Linked DNA regions of Homo sapiens: regions 1, 2 and 4 are each linked to region 3. Evidence: promoter capture Hi-C in 16 types of primary human blood cells and fetal thymus (Javierre and others, 2016). All regions are on one chromosome and are shown on one strand. Each heading gives the region's core, a stretch centred on a gene start or on the middle of the fragment in contact. The rest is flanking DNA. Distances are from core to core; before and after follow the strand shown. Region 1 has its middle 38 kb from the start of LNCDAT. Region 2 has its middle 19 kb from the start of MPC1-DT. Region 3 holds the start of PRR18 (proline rich 18). Region 4 overlaps RPS6KA2 (ribosomal protein S6 kinase A2).

Evidence for each region. Contacts are between HindIII fragments. The CHiCAGO score rates a contact against its expected background, and 5 or more counts as called.
Region 1: a fragment that was not itself captured here is called in contact with the fragment with the promoter of PRR18 in region 3 in 1 of 17 cell types (neutrophils); the score reaches 5.4 in neutrophils.
Region 2: a contact is called between a fragment that was not itself captured here and the fragment with the promoter of PRR18 in region 3, in 15 of 17 cell types (total B cells, naive CD8 T cells, monocytes and 12 more). The highest score is 10.9, in total B cells.
Region 4: a contact is called between a fragment that was not itself captured here and the fragment with the promoter of PRR18 in region 3, in 1 of 17 cell types (neutrophils). The highest score is 6.0, in neutrophils.

What each region holds. Positions count from the first base shown.
Region 1 is chr6:166,204,274-166,206,973 of GRCh38, forward strand. No RefSeq gene overlaps it. Among named protein-coding and RNA genes, the nearest start is that of LNCDAT, 38 kb to the left of the region's middle. RefSeq lists an enhancer at 1,120-2,319. The HindIII fragment of the contact is 433 bases long and covers 1,084-1,516 here.
Region 2 is chr6:166,400,833-166,403,532 of GRCh38, forward strand. No RefSeq gene overlaps it. Among named protein-coding and RNA genes, the nearest start is that of MPC1-DT, 19 kb to the left of the region's middle. The HindIII fragment of the contact is 5,224 bases long and covers 1-2,700 here.
Region 3 is chr6:166,307,125-166,309,824 of GRCh38, forward strand. It overlaps PRR18 (proline rich 18), which reads right to left and starts at 1,268. Exons shown (of 1, transcript NM_175922.4): 1 at 1-1,268. The coding sequence starts at 1,018. The coding sequence ends at 131. LOC107986669 (a long non-coding RNA gene) reads left to right here and starts at 424. Exons shown (of 3, transcript XR_001744464.2): 1 at 424-599; 2 at 2,598-2,693. RefSeq lists a silencer at 751-1,350 and an enhancer at 1,421-1,700. The HindIII fragment of the contact is 8,012 bases long and covers 1-2,700 here.
Region 4 is chr6:166,420,317-166,423,016 of GRCh38, forward strand. The region is part of intron 17 of RPS6KA2 (ribosomal protein S6 kinase A2); the gene reads right to left. LOC124901460 (a long non-coding RNA gene) reads left to right here. Exons shown (of 2, transcript XR_007059866.1): 2 at 1,325-1,437. Among named protein-coding and RNA genes, the nearest start is that of MPC1-DT, 38 kb to the left of the region's middle. The HindIII fragment of the contact is 2,193 bases long and covers 229-2,421 here.

The DNA.
Region 1 (2,700 bases), core at 50-2,549, 100 kb before region 3:
GAAATTTGGAAACAGAACATACAATTTAACTAAGATTAAGTCTTTCAAAATAATAAGCAGCACTCTAAAACTGAAATCAAGAACGATTTTCATGACTATTTGAATTTTTTTAAATTAATGTTGGTGTTTTTTTTGAGACAGGGTGTCACTGTGTTGCCCATACTGCAGTGAACTGGCAGTGTCATAGCTCACTGCAGCCTCAAGCTCCTGGGCTCAAGTCATCCTTCCACCTCAGTCTCCCAAGTAGCTGGGACTACAGGTATGCACCATGACATCTGGCTAATTTTTTAGTTTTTGTGGAGACGGAATCTCGATATGTGGCCCAGCCTGGCCTCAAGTAATCCTCCTGCCTCAGCCTCGCAAAGTGCTGGGATTACAGGCATGAGCCACGACACCTGGCCTAAATATTTCTCAAAAATAAACCAAGAATGATTTTCAAGGCCTAAGAAAAAGACATGGCACTGATGAGATTTTGAAGACTTTTATTAAAAGTAATAAGCATAGTTCATTCACCCAAAACTGACAGTGGAAAATCTGAATGTTTCAAGTAAGTAGAGGAAATTCCCCCAAATGAAGAGGGGATGACAGAGTCCTGAAGTTAGCTACTGGACACCTTCAGCGGCAGACACTGGAAGATTAGTTACAAGAGGGCTCGACAGGCCTGCAGGTAAAACAAACAAAGCAAAACAAACTGAAACAAGAAAGCACAGCCAGGCTCTCTCTCCCCAGCTCAGCAGGAGCTCCAGCCCCAGCTGCCATCATTCCTAGCACTCCGGTAGCAGCGTTACTATTACTAACACTTACGGTATCTTCAAAATCATCCTCCTGGCAACCAATGTGAAGTCACCACCAGGCCCAGAAAGTGGCTGTGACTCTCCCCTGGTGGCCAACACTGCTAGCTGCTGACCTAACTTCCGTTACCCATCCTCTTCCTCACTACCAGGCCCGTAGGTACTGCTGTGGGGTATAAGGTGCGCAGCTGAAGAAAATGCATTTTTCCAGCCCCCTTGTGAGATGGGGTGGCCATATGACCACGCTCTGGTCAGCAGAATGTCAGTGAAGTTTTTGGGTGGAGATTCCAGAAGCTTCCTGAGAAGAGGGCTGGCGGGATGGGCAGGGATCCCCTCTGTCTCAGGCCCTCTGCCGCAGAGGTAGTATGAGGTCAGGAGCAGGAAGCCCCCACCAGCAACAGGCAAGAGCGAGCAGCACCATGGGGTCCCCAAGCCAGCCAGGGACTCTCAGCGACAGGAGAGAAAGGCAAGCCTCTGCGTTCTCGCAAGAGGCTCTTTTCTGGAGGCGGTTTCAGTTTTGCGGTGCTGAATCCAGTTCTGTAAGGGAAGAAAAAGTTATTTCCTCACCCATTGCTAGGTTTATGGCTGAGACACCTATCATAAAAGACAGATAAACAAGAGAAAAGCAGGCGAATTTATTTCATTGTATGTAATTTTTACATGACACAGGCACCTTTAGATATGAAGACCAAAAGGCACAGGGAGGCCTGTGTATCTTTAGGCTAAGCTTGATGGAGAGCGGACAGTGGTGGAAAAGGGTGAGTACACAGAGCGGGTGTCACCTGATGGCAGTGAACTGCGGGAATATGCAAGGTGCCAGATTTCAGGGTCTTGTGTCCCAAACCCCATTAGTGTCTAACTCAGTGTGGATATAACTGCTGGGACGCTAGCAGCGGTCTCTTTGGAAATTGCCAGAGCGCGCCACCGCGGCTGCTGGGTCACTGGGCTTCTGTGTTATGATGGATGCTGTATTCGTCATCCATCATTTGTGGTGTGTTGTAAAGCATCACAAACTGGGTGCCTTTAAACAACAGAAATTTGTTCCCTTACAGTTCTGGATCCCAGAAGCCTGACATCACGGTATCGGCAGGGCCGTGCTCCCTCCTGGGAAGCTTCCCTCCCCTCTTCCCTCTTCTGGCATTGCTGGTGCGTCAGCCCGGTCTCCACCTCCGTCTTCACACAGCCATGACCCCGTGTGTCTCTCCTCCTCTTCAGATGTTCTTCAGTAAGGACATCAGTCATGTTGGATTAGGACCCACCCTGATGACCTCATCCTAGCTCACATCTCGATGTCATCTGCAAAAATCCTATTTCCAAAGAAGGCCACTTCACAGGCCCCAGGACTTAAGATTTTAATGTATCTTTTGCAACAAACACCTTAGCGAAATTTCTTGCAACACACACCTTGGTTTAATGTTCTTGAACTAATCCACTGGCCTCTGGGACTCAGGCATAGCTCTTTGGGCCTCTCAAACTGGCCTGATGTCCTGGGACCAAATTTGCACTGTGCCTAACCTTGGGCTGAGGATTTTTGCCAGAAAGCTCTGGTCTCTCATACCCCAGGCAGGCCCATCCTTCCAGTCCTCCAGGCAAAGCGAATCTGAACTGTGTTAGTTCTAGGCTGTGCCAAGTCCAGGCTCCCTGAGGTTTCTACACTGCCTTTATATTTATAGATCTTAAAAAAAAAAAAAAAAAAAAAAAGGTACTGTTTCTGGTATGGTTTGGCTGTGTTCCCACCCATATCTCATCTTGAATTGTAGCTCCCATCACTCCCACTTGTTGTGGGAGGGACTTGGTAGGAGATAATTGAATCACAGGGGCAGTTCCCCCATACCGTTCTCATGGCAGTGAGTAAGTCTCACGAGATCTGATGGTTTTCTACGAGGAAAACCCTTTTGCTTGGTCCTCA
Region 2 (2,700 bases), core at 21-2,520, 94 kb after region 3:
TTGCCCTGGGCTGTATGAGGAGCCAGTGGCAGGACCCTGTCTGACCGGTGACCCATGGGGGCTCTGGCCATCGCAGTGCACGGGTCCTGAGAGGGCTCCCAGAGCTGCAGGGCTGAGCGCGTTCTGCATGGCCTGCAGGTCTAGCTGTACAAGCACTGCCCTCTGCTGGCATTTTGTAACAATTGCAAACACACAGAACTTACTTGTCCCGCAACGTAGTGAAGTTTCCAGAAGGAAAAGAGATGAATTTATGCCGGGGTGGTGGTTCACGCCTGTAATCCCAGCACTTTGGGAGGCCAAGGAGGGCGGATCACCTGAGGTCAGGAGTTCAAGACCAGCCTGGCCAACATGGTGAAATCCCATCTCTACTAAACAATACAAAAATTAGCCAGGTGTGGTGGCACGCGCCTGTAATCCCAGCTACTCAGGAGGCTGAGGCAGGAGAATCACTTGAACCCGGGAGGAGGAGGTCGCAGTGAGCTGAGATTGTGCCGCTGCACTCCAGGCTGGGCGACAGAACGAGACTCCGTCTCAATTAAAAAAAAAAAATAAAGAGGTGAATTTATATAGTTAACAGGCCACGTTCAACAAGGCCACCCCAGCCACCCGAGGCCCCATGTAGAATTTTGAATGGCCACATGCGTAGTGGACGCTGAACAGGGAACTCGTAAATTCCAGCCCAGTCCCCACCTATTCACTCATTTACAAATAATGATTTGTGCCCAGCACCGGGCCAGGCATAGAAAGAAGAAAAGGATTGCAACTCTCAGGGGTGCTCCAGGCTAGGGGGAGAGAGGCGCACACAAGAACAATTTCACTTCAGTCTCTTCCTCGATCCGGTATGAGGCTGTATAAAGGGCAGTCCGGATTGTATGGAGGTAATAATGTCTGAGCTGAAATGGAAAGGATTACGCAGGATTTGTCTGTTGGACATCTCTGACCAAAACGGCACTGAAACCTGATGACAGTACTTAGCACCAGGTATCTGAGTGGGAGGCTGTTGAGAGTAAATGGAGTTACGGTGGAAGAAATTCTGAGGTCCTTTAAAATGACCAAGCTGCCCGGGACCTTGCCATGTATCTGCTGGCATGTATGATTTGGTGTGAAAATATCAGGCCCAGATAACAGCCAAATTGCCTCACTTTCTGCAAGCTAAACACAGTCTAACTGCGTTAGCTACACACACACACTCTCTCTCTTTCATGCATCACTGAATGATGGAAACACGTTCTGGTAATTTCATCACTGTGTCGACATTAGAGAGTGCATTTACACAAACCTAGATGGTATAGCCCATTGTGTACTTAGGCTCTATGGTGTAGCCTATTGCTCCCAGGCTACAAACCTAAGCAGCATGGTACTGTGCTGAATACTGTAGGCAACTGTAACACAATGATAAGCATTTGTGTATCTAGACATATCTAAACATAGAAAAGGTACAGTAAAAATATGATATGGTATTGTCATCCTATAGGACCACCATTGTATATGCATCTATCTATCTATCTATCTATCTGTCTATCTGTATAGATATAGATATATACAGTCATGCACGACACAATGTTTCGGTCAGTGACTGACTGCATATACAAAGGTGGCCCCATGAGATGACTCTCTCTCCCTCTCCCTCTCCCTCTCCCTCTCCCTCTCCCCCTCCCCCTCCCCCTCCCCCTCCCCCTCCCCCTCCCCCTCCCCCTCCCCCTCCCTCTCTCTCTCTCTCTCTCTCTCTCTCTCTCTCTCTCTCTCTCTCTCTCAGGAACCATTCTTAGAGTTAGCTGCTCCACACCCTTTCTTTCACCTTCCTTTGTCGCCTCATCCAGCAGGCTTTCCGGAATGCAGATGCTGGCATCTGGAAGCATGAAGATGAGGCCTGTGAGTTAGAGGTCCTTTGGGACCGGGAGGGCTCAGAGGAGCTGGGCTGCCATCCAGCCTGCCCTGAGGCTCGCCTGAGAGATCTACAAACTTAGACCTCAGAAGGCTGCTGTCACTTTGGGCTTCCTGCTGCTCACAGTGAAACCTAATCTTTTTTCAGGGAATGGTTAATCGTTTTATGGAGATATAATTCACATACCATACAATTTACCCATTTGAAATGTACCACCTTCAGTATGTTTACAGGGTGTGTGACCATCATCACATTCTAATTTTTGAACATTTTTGGCACCCCCACCAAAAAAAACACTTTACACCCATTATCAGTCACTATCTATTCCCTCTCCACTAATGTTCTCCTTGGCAACCACCAATCTGCTTTCTGTCTCTGTGGATTTGCTGTCCTGGACATTTTATGTAAATGAATCACACCACATGTGGCCTTTGTGTCTGGCTTCCTTCACTGTGTAGTGTTTCAAGGCTCACCTATGTTGGAGCATTTATCAGCACTCCGTTTATTTTTGTGGCTGAATAATATTCCATTGCATGGATAGCACATTTTGTTTCTCCATGAATCCACTGGTGGATATCTGGGTTGTTTCCATGTTTTTACTGATACATATTCATACACACTTATGGGGTAGGTGTGGTGTTTTGTTGCATGCACAGAATGTGTTATGACCAAGTCAGAGGATTTAGGGTATCCATCACCTGCAGTATTTATTATTTCTATATGTTGGGAACGTCTCAAGTCTTCTAGCTATTTTGAAACATACAATACACTGTTGATAACTATAGTCACTGTATTCTGCTATTGAACATTAGAAC
Region 3 (2,700 bases), core at 18-2,517:
CTGGTGTCCCGAAAGTGGGCGCTGGCGGCCAGAGGAGCCTGCGGTCTCCCCCGAGGGCCCCTAGGCGGAGTGGCGCGTGCAGGAAGTGAGGTGGGATCAGGCCTGGCCTGTCCCCGCAGGCCCGCTGGGCTCACAGCGTGCTCAGGTGCCGCCGTGAGTCCAGGGCCCCCGCCCGGCCCCGCGCGGCAGCCGCGGACTCCACGCCGCGCAGCCACTCCGTGCACTTGCGTACCAGGCCCTCGTCCACCGCCTCTGGCTCCTCCTCGTACTCCACGTCGTCGTACCTGTGCCGCTCGTTGAGCAGCGACACCTTGAGCATCGGCCGCAGGGCCCCGGGCCGCGGGCTGAGCTGGGGAACCTGCAGGCCGCCGTGCAGCAGCTGGGCGCCGGGCGGAGGCGCGCGGCGGCCCTGGCCGGCGGTGGGGGGTGCGTCGGGGTCGCTGGCGGGGCCGCCCCTCCGCGGGCCCGCGGCCCTAGCCGGGAGACACGGGGCGAGTAGGCGCCTGGGTTCGGCCGAGGGTGAGGGGAAGGGCCTGCGGGGCCGCGCCAGCAGCTGCTTCTCCAGATGACGCTTCTGGATGACCAGGACGGCCTCGGGGGTGAGATTCAGGCAGAAGCGCGCAGCGGAGTCTGGACAAGGCCCCGCCCCCGAGGAGGTGCCCGCGGCGGTGGTCCCCGTCCCCGCCGAGGTCGCCGCATAGGTGGTCCTCGCTGGGCTGTGGCCGGAGCCTGCCGGCCGGGGCGGGGCGCACGTGGCTGGGGCCCGCGCGCGGCTGGGCAAGGCCTGGGGGGAGACGCCCGGAGGGGCCGGCGGCTGCGTCCTGTCCAGGCCGGGGCCGCGCCGGGCCGGCGGCCTCTTGAGCGTGGCGGAGGGCCAGGAGCTGGAGAGGAGCCCCTCGGGCCGCTGTGGGGGCCTCTTCTTCTTGTCCCCCGCGGCGCAGGGCCTCCGGGGTAACTGGCGCGCGGCTTGGGCCCCCGGGGCGGGGGCGGGCGGCGGCGGCATGGGCGGGAAGGGCATAGTGCAGCCGAGCCGCCGGATCCTCAGCCCCTGGAAAGAGAGGCGGGCGCTCAGCCACTGTGCGCGGAGCGGGTCCCCGCAGTCCGGGCGGCCCCTCCACACCCACCTGCGTCCAGCCGCGGCCTCTCCGGCTTCCTCACATCCCAGCGACCAAACCCGGGGACTCAAAGAGAGGCGCTCCCACCCTCCCCTCCTCCTGGGGGTGCTCCCGGGACTGGACCCTGCAGGAACCGCCTCCCGCCGTCCGACTGTGGGCGAGTCGCGGCGCCCCCGGGTCCCCACAGCTGAGACGCGGGCCGGGCCGGCAGGAGGAGGAGCCCAGCGCGCTCGCTAAGGACGCGGCCCTGCCAGGCCCCGGGCTGTGCCCGGCTGGTGTCACGACCGACTGTTGAATGGGAGCAAAGTGCCAGGACAGCGGAGGGCGGAGCGCGCGCCAGGCATCCCGGGGCTCCCCCAGCTGGCGCTCCGGTGGTCCGAGGTTAATGTAGTCCGTCGAAAGCCAGGAGCATTCCCCTGGGGGAGCCGGCAGCCTTCCGGAGTCACAGGTGGAGGCCCTGCACGTTTCAGAGAAAATCCCCTGTAGCCTCTCCGTGCCTTCGAGACGGCGGGAAAGGCACCGCCAGTAGATGCAGCTCTGCGGCCCCGGACACATCCTGCTTCACAGAGAAAAGCGGGCTGGAGCTGAGAGGGGAGAAATGACCCTCAGTGAATCTTACATAGTGTTCATGCCACCCCTTGAGGAGTCACTTTCAAATTCAAAACCTAAGTATCTATGAACAGGCAAAATAGTTCAGTTTCAGCTATATAATGCTGATTACATGGCAAATATTAGACATCAAGTCCCTTTAATAATTCTTATGAGCAAAGCAATATATTTATCACTGTAGCAGAGATTCAGAATTAATGAGATAAATCTTCACTGTCAATTTACATTCTAGTCGTAGACACATGAAGACATCCTACAATATTCAAATGTTTGTTTAATAAATAATTGAACAATTGCAAAGTGACGGATCAAAAAGTCAACATTTCATGTGTGCAGTCCCTGCATTACTTAAGGATAATCATCAGCTGCTTAGATCTCCACAAAGTACTTTCCATCAGATACACTTTTCTGATGGAAACCAGGTGTGTGATGGTTACGGCCCCAGGTTAGCTCCAGAGCACATTCAACTGTGGGTAAACACAAATGTGCCCTGTGCCAACAGTCACAGCAGGACAGCATGGCCCTCCCCCAGCCGCCTCAGTCTCCGAGGCAGCAGCAACGCCTCCCCTTGTTGACTGTTGGTGGCCTCAGAGAACTGCGCTGTGGATACATGGGAGCGTCAAGGAAACCTGGCAGGTGGTGGGAAACACTTCTCACCAGAGCTTGGGTTGGGGTGACAGGTTTGGGCCCTGTCATCTCTACCAGCACCTCCCAAGCCACCCCAATACAGCTCTGAAACAAGCCTCCCAGCTCACAGGCACTTTCCCTCCATCCCTGCCAGCCTGTCTCTGCCGGTGGGCTCAGGCTGTTAATCGGCTTGACAGGTGAGGTCCTAAGATACTGAAACCTCCTCCTCAATATGTTTTATTCCAGGTTTTAGAATCTCTGGATGGGTGTGGGAAGAGGCACGTCAGTGGCGGCAGGAGGCCCACAGTTCTGTGCCTGGAAAGTGGAGAACTGGAAGAGAAGGTGAGGC
Region 4 (2,700 bases), core at 75-2,574, 110 kb after region 3:
TTTACATTGTGGTGCCAACATCACCACCATCCATCCACAGAGCATTTCACCTTCCCAAACTGAAACTCTGTCCCCATTAAACAACAACTCCCTGTCCCCCAGCCCCCAACACCTACCCTTCTACTGTCCGTCTGTGTGAATCTGACTCCTCCAGGGACCTCATAGGAGTGGAATTATGCAATGTTTGTCTTTCTGTGACTGGCCCATTTCACTTAGTATAACACCCTAAGCTTCCTCCAGGGGTCAGAAGTTCCTTCCTTCTGCAGGCTGGACAATGTTCCGCTGTGTGTGCATGCCACGTTTTGCTTACCCATTCATCCACCGAGGGACACTCTCGTGGCTTCCACCTTTTGGCTGTTGTGAATAGTGCTGCTATGAACATGGGTGGACACATGTCTCTTTGCGTCCCTGCCTTCAATTCTTTTGGGTATATACCCAGAAGTTCCATTCTGGGCTACGTGATAACATTTAATTTTTTTGAAGAACTGTTAAAGCAGCAAAACTTGTATGCATCCTAGGATTACATACTTCAGTAGAGGGCAATCCTCTGATATAGTTACAGTTGAATAACAACAAAGGAAGCCACAATGGTGCTCATGGATTACTGCAGATGACTGGATTTAGCATTAAATATCGAGTCGGGAGAGCTCGGCTCAATTTCCTTAGAGATGAGAGCAAGGAGCCTGTCCTTTTCTCTGTATCGCTGCTACCATGTGTGAGCCTGCACCATGGAGGGGACCAGCCAGCGCATGCTGAATGAATGTGGTGCTCATGGTGCAAGCCTCACTTCCTAATCCATCAGCGGGGTGACCTTCAGAAGTCACTTACACACATGGAGCTTGTGCTTTCTGACTCTGTGAAACATGGTTAATAGATTTTACCCTGCCTACTTTGTATGGTGGATGAGAGTGAAAGTAAAAAAAGTTGGTAAAAGTGCTTTGTAAATGGCAAAGGAATATCACAACCTAGGGCATTCTACAATCAATAAAATCAATATTGTGGGAGACCAGAATATGCCACCCCAAAATATGCTGCATAGGCGTGAGGGGCGCTGAGCTGAAGATACATAAGAAGCAGCAGATGCAGGAGAGCTCTGTGTCCTCCATTTGTCTAAAATCAGGACATGGATTAAGACAAAAGGTACCTACCCCCAACCAGAGAGGACAAAGGCTTCCCCTAGGGACAGCTTTGGATGCATGTGGTCCCACCTGGGACCAGCCTCCATAGGCCAGCCCTGCACCTCCCCAAGCTGCAGCCCCTGGAGACCCTAACCCTCTTCCTTTGTCTTGCCAGGTCTCTAAAAATTCTCTGTTCTTTGTTGCAGATACCATGTAGGCTGGATTCAAAGCCACCTCTGTGAGGATGACTCCTTCTCTGGGCATCTCGCATGCATAAATGAGAAGATGTGTGTTAATAAACTTCTTTTTCTCTTGTTAATCTGTCTTTTGTTACAGGGGTCTGGTCCAGCTAAGAACTTATGAGGGATGAGGAAAACGTCATTTTCCTCCCCCATAATATTATCAATATTAATATTGATTAAGTAAGGCATGAACAGAGGCTTATAACCTGGTTACTTTCATTTTTTTTAGTTTTTATTTTTTGAGACGGAGTCCTGCTCTTTCAACCAGGCTGGAGTGCAGTGGCGTGATCTCGGCTCACTGCAACCTCCACTTCCCGGGTTCAAGCGATTCTCCTGCCTCAGCCTCCTGAGTAGCTGGGACTGTGGGCACACACCACCACACCTGGCTAATTTTTGTATTTTTAGTAGAGACGGGGTTTCACCATGTTGGCCAGGCTGGTCTCCAACTCCTGACCTCAGGTGATCCACCTGCCTCGGCCTCCCAAAGTGCTGGGATTACAGGCGTGAGCCACCGCACCCAGCCAAACTTGGTTATTTTTAAAGGGGCCACAGGTTGCTCAAGTGTCTGGATGACCCCTGCATAACCTAAAACAGCCTCTCAGTCCAGCCCCTGGCTGCACATCCGTTCACGTCTCAGCACGCAGAAGCATCTTTGCAATGGACCAGTGGCCCTGGGTGACCTCTTAAACAACTCCAAGACCCACAGTGAGATGCCAGGCGCCTCAGACCTGGCTGCTCGCTTGACTCCCCTCCCATCGGAGCAGCTCTGGTCCAGTTCCATCAAGAACCCACGGGATCCACACAGACTCTGAAGTCCGCCTTCCTTCCCAGTTCCCTCCTCCCCTGTCCCATTGGCAACATCAGCCACAGCCCTTCCCTTCCTCTCTTTACCACTGGCTTTTCTCAAAGGCAAGAAATTGGGCTTAGATTTATAAACACATCCTTGAATTCAGAACCTAATGGAACTTGTTCCCGGGAAATGTGAAAAGAGAGAAGTTCACCAGGTGCCTGCTAGCTGCTCCGAGCGGGGCTGGGAGCAGACACAGACACTGAACAACGTAAGCTTTCAGTGGCAAATCACCCCGGAGCCCTGCGGTTCTCAATCTGACAGCTGCTGACTTGCTGCTGTCGGGGAACCAATCTGGAGTGAGAATTGGGGTGCAGAGAAAATCCGTAAACTTAGTTGCTCCCTGCGCTATGACGGATCCATTTCCCATCCCAGGTGAACCGCAGCTCTGCGTCCTGGTTGTATAAGGAGACTACTGCATCATCTCTCTAACTTGGAATAAATATGCAGATTTCATCCAAATTGTCTACAGAAGACAATTTTACATAAAAAT